2 separate regions of the Homo sapiens genome follow, and region 1 is linked to region 2. Evidence: promoter capture Hi-C in human tissues and cell types (Jung and others, 2019). All regions are on one chromosome and are shown on one strand. The core of a region is centred on a gene start or on the middle of the fragment in contact, and the rest is flanking DNA. Distances in the headings are between cores, read along the strand shown.

Evidence for each region. Contacts are between HindIII fragments. The study calls those that stand out against the background at their distance.
Region 1: a fragment that was not itself captured here is called in contact with the fragment with the promoter of CYP39A1 in region 2 in 1 of the 25 tissues and cell types used here (heart right ventricle).

Annotation. Positions count from the first base shown.
Region 1 is chr6:46,138,935-46,143,896 of GRCh38, forward strand. It overlaps ENPP4 (ectonucleotide pyrophosphatase/phosphodiesterase 4), which reads left to right. Exons shown (of 4, transcript NM_014936.5): 2 at 617-1,475; 3 at 2,118-2,288; 4 at 4,342-4,962. The coding sequence starts at 650. The coding sequence ends at 4,706. Among named protein-coding and RNA genes, the nearest start is that of ENPP4, 11 kb to the left of the region's middle. The HindIII fragment of the contact is 4,639 bases long and covers 1-4,003 here.
Region 2 is chr6:46,650,446-46,655,400 of GRCh38, forward strand. CYP39A1 (cytochrome P450 family 39 subfamily A member 1) reads right to left here and starts at 2,373. Exons shown (of 12, transcript NM_016593.5): 1 at 1,961-2,373. The coding sequence starts at 2,137. SLC25A27 (solute carrier family 25 member 27) reads left to right here and starts at 2,530. Exons shown (of 9, transcript NM_004277.5): 1 at 2,530-2,853. The coding sequence starts at 2,748. RefSeq lists enhancers at 2,278-2,327, 2,558-2,687 and silencers at 2,348-2,437, 2,868-2,967. The HindIII fragment of the contact is 4,112 bases long and covers 219-4,330 here.

The sequences.
Region 1 (4,962 bases), core at 434-2,933, 510 kb before region 2:
ATGTCCATGTAGGCTTTGCATGTTTGTTAATCAACTTCATGTGACTATTGGGGCACATACAGACTGATGGGGGCTTTTTTCTCAATAGCATTTATTTCTTATTCCCCCTTTTTTATAGCAATATTTTCAACAAGAACTGGCAATAAACCAATATGGTAGAATTTCCACCAATTATTTCTGTGGGTTAAAGAAACTATAAAGTACAATTTATTAAACTGGAAAAATAATCATCATCTCTGGAGCCTCTGAAAGCTTGGCATTAACGTTATGTTTTACAAAAGAATCATTTTAGTGTCTGCATCTATTTTTATTAAGCCTTTCGAAGAATTTCTAATGTGGCAAATGAGCTGACAGCCTAGAAGGAGTATTGATGTGGAGTATAAAAATGGCCCATATGAAGGATAGAGTAGGGCATATATATAAATAGGAAATTGGACAAGACAATTTTTTTTCCAATTTTAGCTTTTAGTTATTTTTAAATAAATGGTATTATTTAAGTTAATATAGGTAAAGCTGGCATATAAATGTTGGTTCTCTCCTCCTGTGGGCTAAAATTCTAAAACTTAACCCAAATGAAATAGAATTACTACTTATGAGTTGTGTTTTTACATTTTAGGAACCCTGATTGCTGTCCTTCAACGTGTTCATTATGAAGTTATTAGTAATACTTTTGTTTTCTGGACTTATAACTGGTTTTAGAAGTGACTCTTCCTCTAGTTTGCCACCTAAGTTACTACTAGTATCCTTTGATGGCTTCAGAGCTGATTATCTGAAGAACTATGAATTTCCTCATCTCCAGAATTTTATCAAAGAAGGTGTTTTGGTAGAGCATGTTAAAAATGTTTTTATCACAAAAACATTTCCAAACCACTACAGTATTGTGACAGGCTTGTATGAAGAAAGCCATGGCATTGTGGCTAATTCCATGTATGATGCAGTCACAAAGAAACACTTTTCTGACTCTAATGACAAGGATCCTTTTTGGTGGAATGAGGCAGTACCTATTTGGGTGACCAATCAGCTTCAGGAAAACAGATCAAGTGCTGCTGCTATGTGGCCTGGTACTGATGTACCCATTCACGATACCATCTCTTCCTATTTTATGAATTACAACTCCTCAGTGTCATTTGAGGAAAGACTAAATAATATTACTATGTGGCTAAACAATTCGAACCCACCAGTCACCTTTGCAACACTATATTGGGAAGAACCAGATGCAAGTGGCCACAAATACGGACCTGAAGATAAAGAAAACATGAGCAGAGTGTTGAAAAAAATAGATGATCTTATCGGTGACTTAGTCCAAAGACTCAAGATGTTAGGGCTATGGGAAAATCTTAATGTGATCATTACAAGTGATCATGGGATGACCCAGTGTTCTCAGGACAGACTGATAAACCTGGATTCCTGCATCGATCATTCATACTACACTCTTATAGATTTGAGCCCAGTTGCTGCAATACTTCCCAAAATAAGTAAGTAAACATTCAACTGAGGGATACTATTATTCGAATGGGGCAATTGATTGAGGGGGGTGGGTTGTATAAAAGAATGAAGCTCTAGCTTTTTGTAGTTTAGAACCATATACTCAGAGTGGGATTATATGTTTTTTTCCTCTTGTTTACAAGTTGAGAGCAGTTGGCCTATGGTTTAGTTATATGGCTTATGGTTTAGTTTCAAAGTGAGTATTTCTTTGCTTTTGATATATCTAATTATTTGCACTAGAAAAAGGAAATTTTTATCCTTAAACATCTTAGATTTTAGTGTGTGATATTTAGTGGTGAGGTACTTTCTTCTACTGATCATAGAAGTAGTAGTTAGTAGTAACATGTAATTAGTTTATGTTTACTTAGGAAGATACACCTGAAAAATGTCCCCTATCTGTAAAAGTCCACCATGGTAATCCACAAAGTGAAACAGATTTGTTAATGTTTGAGAAAGGTGTGTGTTTGTGTGTATCAGTCCCCAACACTCTCACATTATTATTGCTCTGTTTTTTTAAGAAGTGATTTAATAGATGACATTATCTATAATTTACTTCCAATTATTCTAGTTAGACATATTTTTTCCTTATCAATCATAACTTGTTTCCTTTGCTGTTTCTTTTTTTTTCTCAGATAGAACAGAGGTTTATAACAAACTGAAAAACTGTAGCCCTCATATGAATGTTTATCTCAAAGAAGACATTCCTAACAGATTTTATTACCAACATAATGATCGAATTCAGCCCATTATTTTGGTTGCCGATGAAGGCTGGACAATTGTGCTAAATGAATCATCACAAAAATGTAAGTATTTAGTTGAGATATTTCTGTTGTATCCTAGGAACAAATCATACCTTGTGATACTGTTGTGTTAAGAGGGTACTTCGATTTAAAGAAGTTCACACAGAATAATTAGTTCAATTTTCAACCAGATAATTCCCAGGTCTTCATTTAATAGCAATTTACAGTAATCACAATTTCACCTTTAAATTAGAAAGTAAATTTAAGAGTGAAGGCAAAGTCCTACTTTCTTTCCAAAACTGCAATTACTGTCAGTAATTTTCAAGATTCATTCTCTTGATTTATACAAAATAGAGAAGTAAAGAAACAGTAAAAGGGGAGAGATTAGCTAATCCTTGTTCTTTTGTGTGTTAAAAAAAATTTGTCTGAGTAACCCTAAGTCTTCCCCAGTAACAAAATCATTTACCTGAATGCTACAGCTATTTAGAACACTGGGCAAGAACCAGAAAGTAACCAAACAAATCCACCAAGTGAACAAAATAGATACATCAAAATCTCTCCTAAAAAATATATAGGGGAGAAAATGTATAGGGGTGAGTTACAGGCTTGCCTCAAACTGAAGCTTATTTATCCATATTTCATATTCAATTCAAATGCTTTTTTTAAAATCTAATTTTGTGGTCTATGGTAGGGGTCAGCAAACTTTTTTAGTAAAGGGCCAAATAGAAAATAGTTTAGGCTTTGTGGGCCAGCTGGTCTCTGTCTCAGCTACTCTACTCTGCCTTTATTGTGTAAAAGTAGCCATAGACAACCTGTAAAGAAATTGAAGTGGTGTGCTTCGGTGAAACTCTGTTTACAAAAAGGATGGAGGGCTAACCTTCGCTATGGGCTGTAGTTTACAGTTCCCTGATATATAGCAATTTAGAAGTATCAGGCAAGCATAGGACAGACTCAGAATCAATGAAGTTTGTATATTATTTACATCAATGTTATGTTGCATATTTGTTGTTGACAACCGAAAGTATAGAAAAGCATAGGAAAGAGAACAAAAACTATCCATAATCCCTCAGTATGGATTTATAGGCAAATGTTAATTGTGGACATTTCTCCCCATCCAATCTTTTTTCATATATATATTCTTTTCTAATATATATCTATATTATATATATTATATGTAATATAATTATATGTAATATATATAATATATATAATGTATATTATATATTATATATAATATATAATTACATATAATTATAATATATATTTTCTACATATATATGTAGAATATATTATATATTATATATAGAAAAATATATATTTTTTTCTAATATATGTGTGTGTGTTTTAATATTATTGAAATCTTTATATATTCTGCTTTTTGTCATATTGGTTATTTTTATGATGAAATATTTCAAACATACCACCAAAGAATAATATAACAAATATCAGTATACTCATCACCCAGTCACCCGTACTTAATATGAAAGTGGGAGCTTATTAAATACAACGGGTGTACGTTAAATGGCAACATTTGTTAAAATAAAGCTAAAAATTGGGAATTTATTATTGGAGTTGTATTAGGGACTATCATATGCTTTTCTTTAAGTCTAACTTTTACTGGGATAGAGTCACCAGATTAGACAACACATTCAACGCAAGATCCCTCCTGTAACAATTGAGATAGGTTAGGCTGCAGATTTTCTTTTTCTCCATTTGTTGGCCTTACTCACTTCTGTTCTTCCCAGTTACACAGAACCCTCAGCCTGACCACTGTCTTTATAACTGGTACTGCTTGCAGTGAGCTTTTGCAAACAGTGCTGAGATTGACAAGTGAAGTAATTGGTACTCGGGCTGAAAGATAAGTACATCAGGTTGACAAGTGGTGGTAAAGTCTGAGGGTATGACCAGTTGGGAAAAGGGGCATATGTGTGTGTTTGTGTGTGTATGTGAGAGAGAGAGAGAGAGAGGGAAATATGGAACATAGCTGAGTTGAAGAAATAGAAATTTTTATTTCTAGTCCCTTTCTGAAAGAATTGAATGTTTATATACTAGAAGCAAGTTATTTTGTCCTAAAAAGTCTGATCTTATTGACTGATGTTGTTTTGTTCTTTTTCAGTAGGTGACCATGGTTATGATAATTCTTTGCCTAGTATGCATCCATTTCTAGCTGCCCACGGACCTGCATTTCACAAAGGCTACAAGCATAGCACAATTAACATTGTGGATATTTATCCAATGATGTGCCACATCCTGGGATTAAAACCACATCCCAATAATGGGACCTTTGGTCATACTAAGTGCTTGTTAGTTGACCAGTGGTGCATTAATCTCCCAGAAGCCATCGCGATTGTTATCGGTTCACTCTTGGTGTTAACCATGCTAACATGCCTCATAATAATCATGCAGAATAGACTTTCTGTACCTCGTCCATTTTCTCGACTTCAGCTACAAGAAGATGATGATGATCCTTTAATTGGGTGACATGTGCTAGGGCTTATACAAAGTGTCTTTGATTAATCACAAAACTAAGAATACATCCAAAGAATAGTGTTGTAACTATGAAAAAGAATACTTTGAAAGACAAAGAACTTAGACTAAGCATGTTAAAATTATTACTTTGTTTTCCTTGTGTTTTGTTTCGGTGCATTTGCTAATAAGATAACGCTGACCATAGTAAAATTGTTAGTAAATCATTAGGTAACATCTTGTGGTAGGAAATCATTAGGTAACATCAATC
Region 2 (4,955 bases), core at 1,123-3,622:
GCTTTTAGTAGTAAAACATCAAATAATGCAGTCATATTCTTTTTTTTTTTTTTTTTTTTTTTTTTTTTTTTTTTAAGAGACAAGGTCTCGCTCTGTTGCCCAGGCTCGAGTGCAGTGGCTCAATCATAGCTTACCGGAATCTGGAACTCCTGAGCTCAAGCAATCCTCCCGCCTCAGCCTCTCGAGGAGCTGGGACTACAGGCATGTGCCACTGGACCAGATTAAATTTTTTATTTTTCTATTTAGTTTTTGTAGAAATGAGGTCTTGCTATATCTCCCGGGCTGGTCTTAAATTCCTGGCCTCAAGCAATCCTCCCACCCCTGCCTCCCAAAGTGTTGGGATTACAGGTGTGAGACACAGAGTCCAGCAATAACTTGTTTTGTTTAGTCAGGAAAGCAATAGAGACCTCACAAATATTTAGCCTTCTGACACAAGCTTGTAAAAAAACAGTTCCTTAAAAATTATCAAGATCATATGCATAAGGAAGGCTGTGGGAGACAAAGGAGTATTTCTTTAGGAGATATAATGTTTCATCTATCAGACTAGCAAAAATTGCAAAGAATTATGGTATTCAGTATGGCCCAGGATTTGAGAAGTTAGGCAATTGCATACAGTCAATGGAAAATAAAAATTGCATATTCATACTTCTTTTTCCAAAAGTAACACATTCATATAAACAATTTAAGTGTGCATGTCCTTTGACTCAGCAATTCTACTCCTAGGAATTTATTCTGAGTAAACAATCAGATAATTGCAAAATGTACAACCACACAATCAATACATGCACACAAACACGCAAGAATGTTCACTGAAGCACTGGCTGAAAGAAAAAAGTTTGGCAGCAACCTATAAACCCAACTATTGAGATTTAAGTAAACTATTGTATCCTCCTATGACAAAATATAGCCATAAAAGGAAGATTCAAAGTATTTCATGGTACAGGAAAGTCATTCACATTATATGTTAAAATCAAAAGCACATAAAAGAGTATTATACTATTATTCCATTGTTGTTCATTAAATAGTTGTAAATACATAGGAAAATGACCAAAATAATATAAATACACTAAATTTTTACAGTACAGCTGGTGTGATATTCTGGGTTATTTTTATTTTCATCTTAGTTCTCTTTAATTTTCTATATGTTTTTTACTAAATTGGAATCTCAGAGATTTTGAAGGCAAATGATCAGTGGTAAAATAATGCTACTACGTATAAATTCATTCTACAAATTGGGCTAACCAGATGGAAAATGGGTCACCACAGAAAGTATTATAATTCATAAGAATAATTATAATATCATACAAATTTATTAGACAATCAAATACCATAAAATATTTGTGACTGGAAATTGAATAAAACTTAAAAGACATTAATAAAGGTCTGTTCCTTAAAGTGCTCAGACATTTAAAAGATACTTTCAAGACAAAAACATCTACTACAAGGAGGATTACTAGTCTCTTCAGGCCGTAGTGAAAATGGAGTACATCATCATCAAATAACAACGTCAGCTAAAAATACAGAGCCTGTTTATTGTGTACGGACCAACTGTGCAAGCAATTTGTACAATACTTTGGTGTTAACTCCAATTTGGATACGAATTACTCATTTTCACAAACTTAAATTGGATTACACTTTATCTTTCCCAATTACTGAAAACATTTACTTAACACATACACATTTGGAACTTAACTTCGATGAAGTAAAAATACGAAAAGTTAATCTCTACTTCCAAAAATGTCGATGCACGCTGCAATTGTATTTCATTTCTTTCGCAAAATTTTGCACAGGATATTGTTGTTAATTGTTAGTAGAGGAATTCAGAAATGACTAGATCCTTTAGTTGAGGCAAGCAGGTATGTTCCCCGTGTTCTAGCCCTGCACTTAAGAGTCAATGAAAGAAAGTTTAAAAAAGAAAGCATTGTCTCCTCTGGAGACCCCGTCTGCCACGACCACATACCTTGATTCTTGCTTTCTCTATAAATTCTAGAGGGGCTTTCCCAAACTCAAATCCAACTCCAATCCAAGGAATCCAGCCCTTGATGCACGGGGGTCTACGCAAATTCTTCCGCTGAAGGAGTAAGAACAGAGCAAGGCAACCCAGGATTATAATCACTGTTGGGGAAATTAGTTCCATGTTTTTGTCCAGCACCTTCCAGAAGCAGAAAAGTGTGAAACAGTCCTGCCGTCCCTTGCTTCTTTTCTGTGGGCTACGGAACCTGTCGGGACTCCCAACCTTTCTGCTGCAACTTTTGCAGCTCTCCTTCGTAACTGTAGCTTCCTTCCTCTGTCCCAGTTTTCAGGTGATTTTTCCATTGTCGCTCCCTCCCACCTCCACTTCTCTTTGAATCTCAGCCAGCGCGGAAAAAATGCAAGGAGGGGCAGGGCCGGGCTAGGACTGACGGGCGAGAACCAGCCGCGTTGCCATGGAGGCCGGGGGCGGAGCCGCAGAGGGACCCGCGGCCGGCCAATCAGAGACGTAGCGGAGCCCGGCGGACTACATTGCCCAGTAACCTCCTGGGCTCCGCTGTGTTTTTCTATTCTGGGGTGTAAGGGGCAGCTGGACCACTCCAGCTGGGACTGCTAGGAAGGTTGCGGGTCCACCCGGCCGAGCCGAACGAGGGAAATGGTCCTCACCCGGCCACTCGCCGGTTGAAAAGGGGCCGCCCTGGCAGGGAAGCGGCCGCCGCGGCGCGGTGCAGCGCAGCGGCGAGAAGGAGTGCGTTATCGTCTTGCGCTACTGCTGAATGTCCGTCCCGGAGGAGGAGGAGAGGCTTTTGCCGCTGACCCAGAGATGGCCCCGAGCGAGCAAATTCCTACTGTCCGGCTGCGCGGCTACCGTGGCCGAGCTAGGTACCCGGCTGCCCACGCCTGGGCCTCCCGGGCCAGTGGCACGCGCCGCGCTGGGGGAGGGTGCGCGGGCGGCTTCGCGCCCGGCAGTGCGCATCGGAGAGGTCGCCCCTTCCATGCCCGCCTGGCAGAGGTGGCGGTGGAGGCCAGGCCCGCGGTGGGAGGAGGAGGGATTGAGGTCTCCACGGCCTTTTCCTTCTAATCTCTTCTAATGCTTCCCTTAGGCATGTGCTGTGGTGCTTGAATGTTGTACTTTAAGAAGCTTCGCGAGCTGTCATTCCTCTGTAGGAATCATTTTCCTTTTCATGAGGATGACCTTTTTAAAAACGTAATCTGTTTTCCATCCTTACTGAGATCATCTCTGTGGTTTATAGTCTTACACAGCCACACTGTCATTATCTTGTGGGTCCAAGTTGTGGACCTACCTTGTGGGACTTCCGTTATTAACCTGCCACTCACAGAGCATCGACTACTTGACCTCTTTGAGTGTAATTCATCTATACTGTTTACCTTGCAGGATTCTGAGAAGTCAATAATATATGATTGCTAAACCCAAGGCAGGACACCCATTAGTTGCGACATTTTTATAATTCCTACAATACCAGGGACTGTGGATATATATTTGAAAAGACCCAGTTCTGACCTTCTTACAGGCTGCTGGGGAGACAGAGAAAGACAATTATAATGTGCTACTTGTTATAATGAAGATATTATTAGGTGTCATAAAAGCATAGAAGAGCAGTTACATCTGCCTACATGAGTAAGAAAAAACTTTAAGAGGCCATCTAGAGTGGAATGATGATGCCCTTGAATGAGCAAGTAGCGTTTATTCCAAGGATTTTGTGAGTAGTATACTCATGTGTTTCCTGTGAAGCCTTAACTGTGTATTTTAAGATTACCCTTACATTTTCTTGCCTGTTACAAAAAAATAAAAAGAACAGTTCTGATGCGTTATCATTTGTAAATGTTAGTTGGTCCTATTTTAAGAGTTTATTTTTTAATTCTAGCATAGCCAGCCATGATCAGTTGTTTCGTGCTCTTCCATTTTTGCCTTTTAGCCCCTCTATTTTTTAATGTCTCTCCTTTCGAAAATGATGGAGAATTTTTACTTTTCATTGTTTTTACTGAAATAAAATTCATCAGCTTAAAAAGATCTAAAAGCAGATTGCTGAATGATATTTCCAGGTTTTATTTTTAATTGATGTGTCCCCCTCTGACTCAATGGCTTTTATACAGGACTATTCCTCGTTAAAAATTCATGGAGAGAATTGTGTGTGGAGAATGGATGGGAATCAAAATGTGGGATGGTTTTAAGTACAAACCACTTCAGGAACCTGAAGCATCATTTAACAAACCAGCGAGAAAACAAAACTTATTTTGAAAGACATAATCTGTGTAATATGGAGAAATCTATTAAGATTTTTCAGGTTTCATATGTCAATAAAATATTGCTTGAAGTCTATGCAAGCTACTTCTGTTCTAGGGAAACTGTCAGCAAGATACTAACTTTTCCAAAAACCAGTGGTAAGATTTAATATTCACTTCCCTTCCCCACATTGTTTTCTCTTGGAAAAGGTATACTAAGGTTTTGTGTCAGGTGGTGGTCATTGAAAAGTCTTATATAATGTAAGTAATGTTCATGAACTTGTCTGAATGTTATTATTTTAATTATTCAGGACGTTTTCTGTATAAGGTTATGAGCTCTATCTTCCTTATGTAGGCCGTTTAGCTTAACTGTATTAAGGTAAAAGGTCTGTATCTAATTTAAAACTTAAAACCAAAAAATTTTTCCAAAATACAGTTAGTACTTGTAAGGAGGCCATGAGTAGGCGATGCATATAATTTAGTGCTGGAAAAATAATTCCATATATGCTTTAATTGAAAGGATATTGAGCTTATGACCCTTGCATATAAAAGACAACATTATAAACTCCATTACATCTTCTGTATCTCAAACATTATGTCAGTCATTCATCTGCATGTGAACATCACCCACGAAATTATAGAGTTCAGCTTCATCTAGCATTTGTTATAGTACATAAGAATATATAGTGCAGTATTCTAATGTTACATTAGATCTCAAATAATCATGGCTGCAGTCAAGA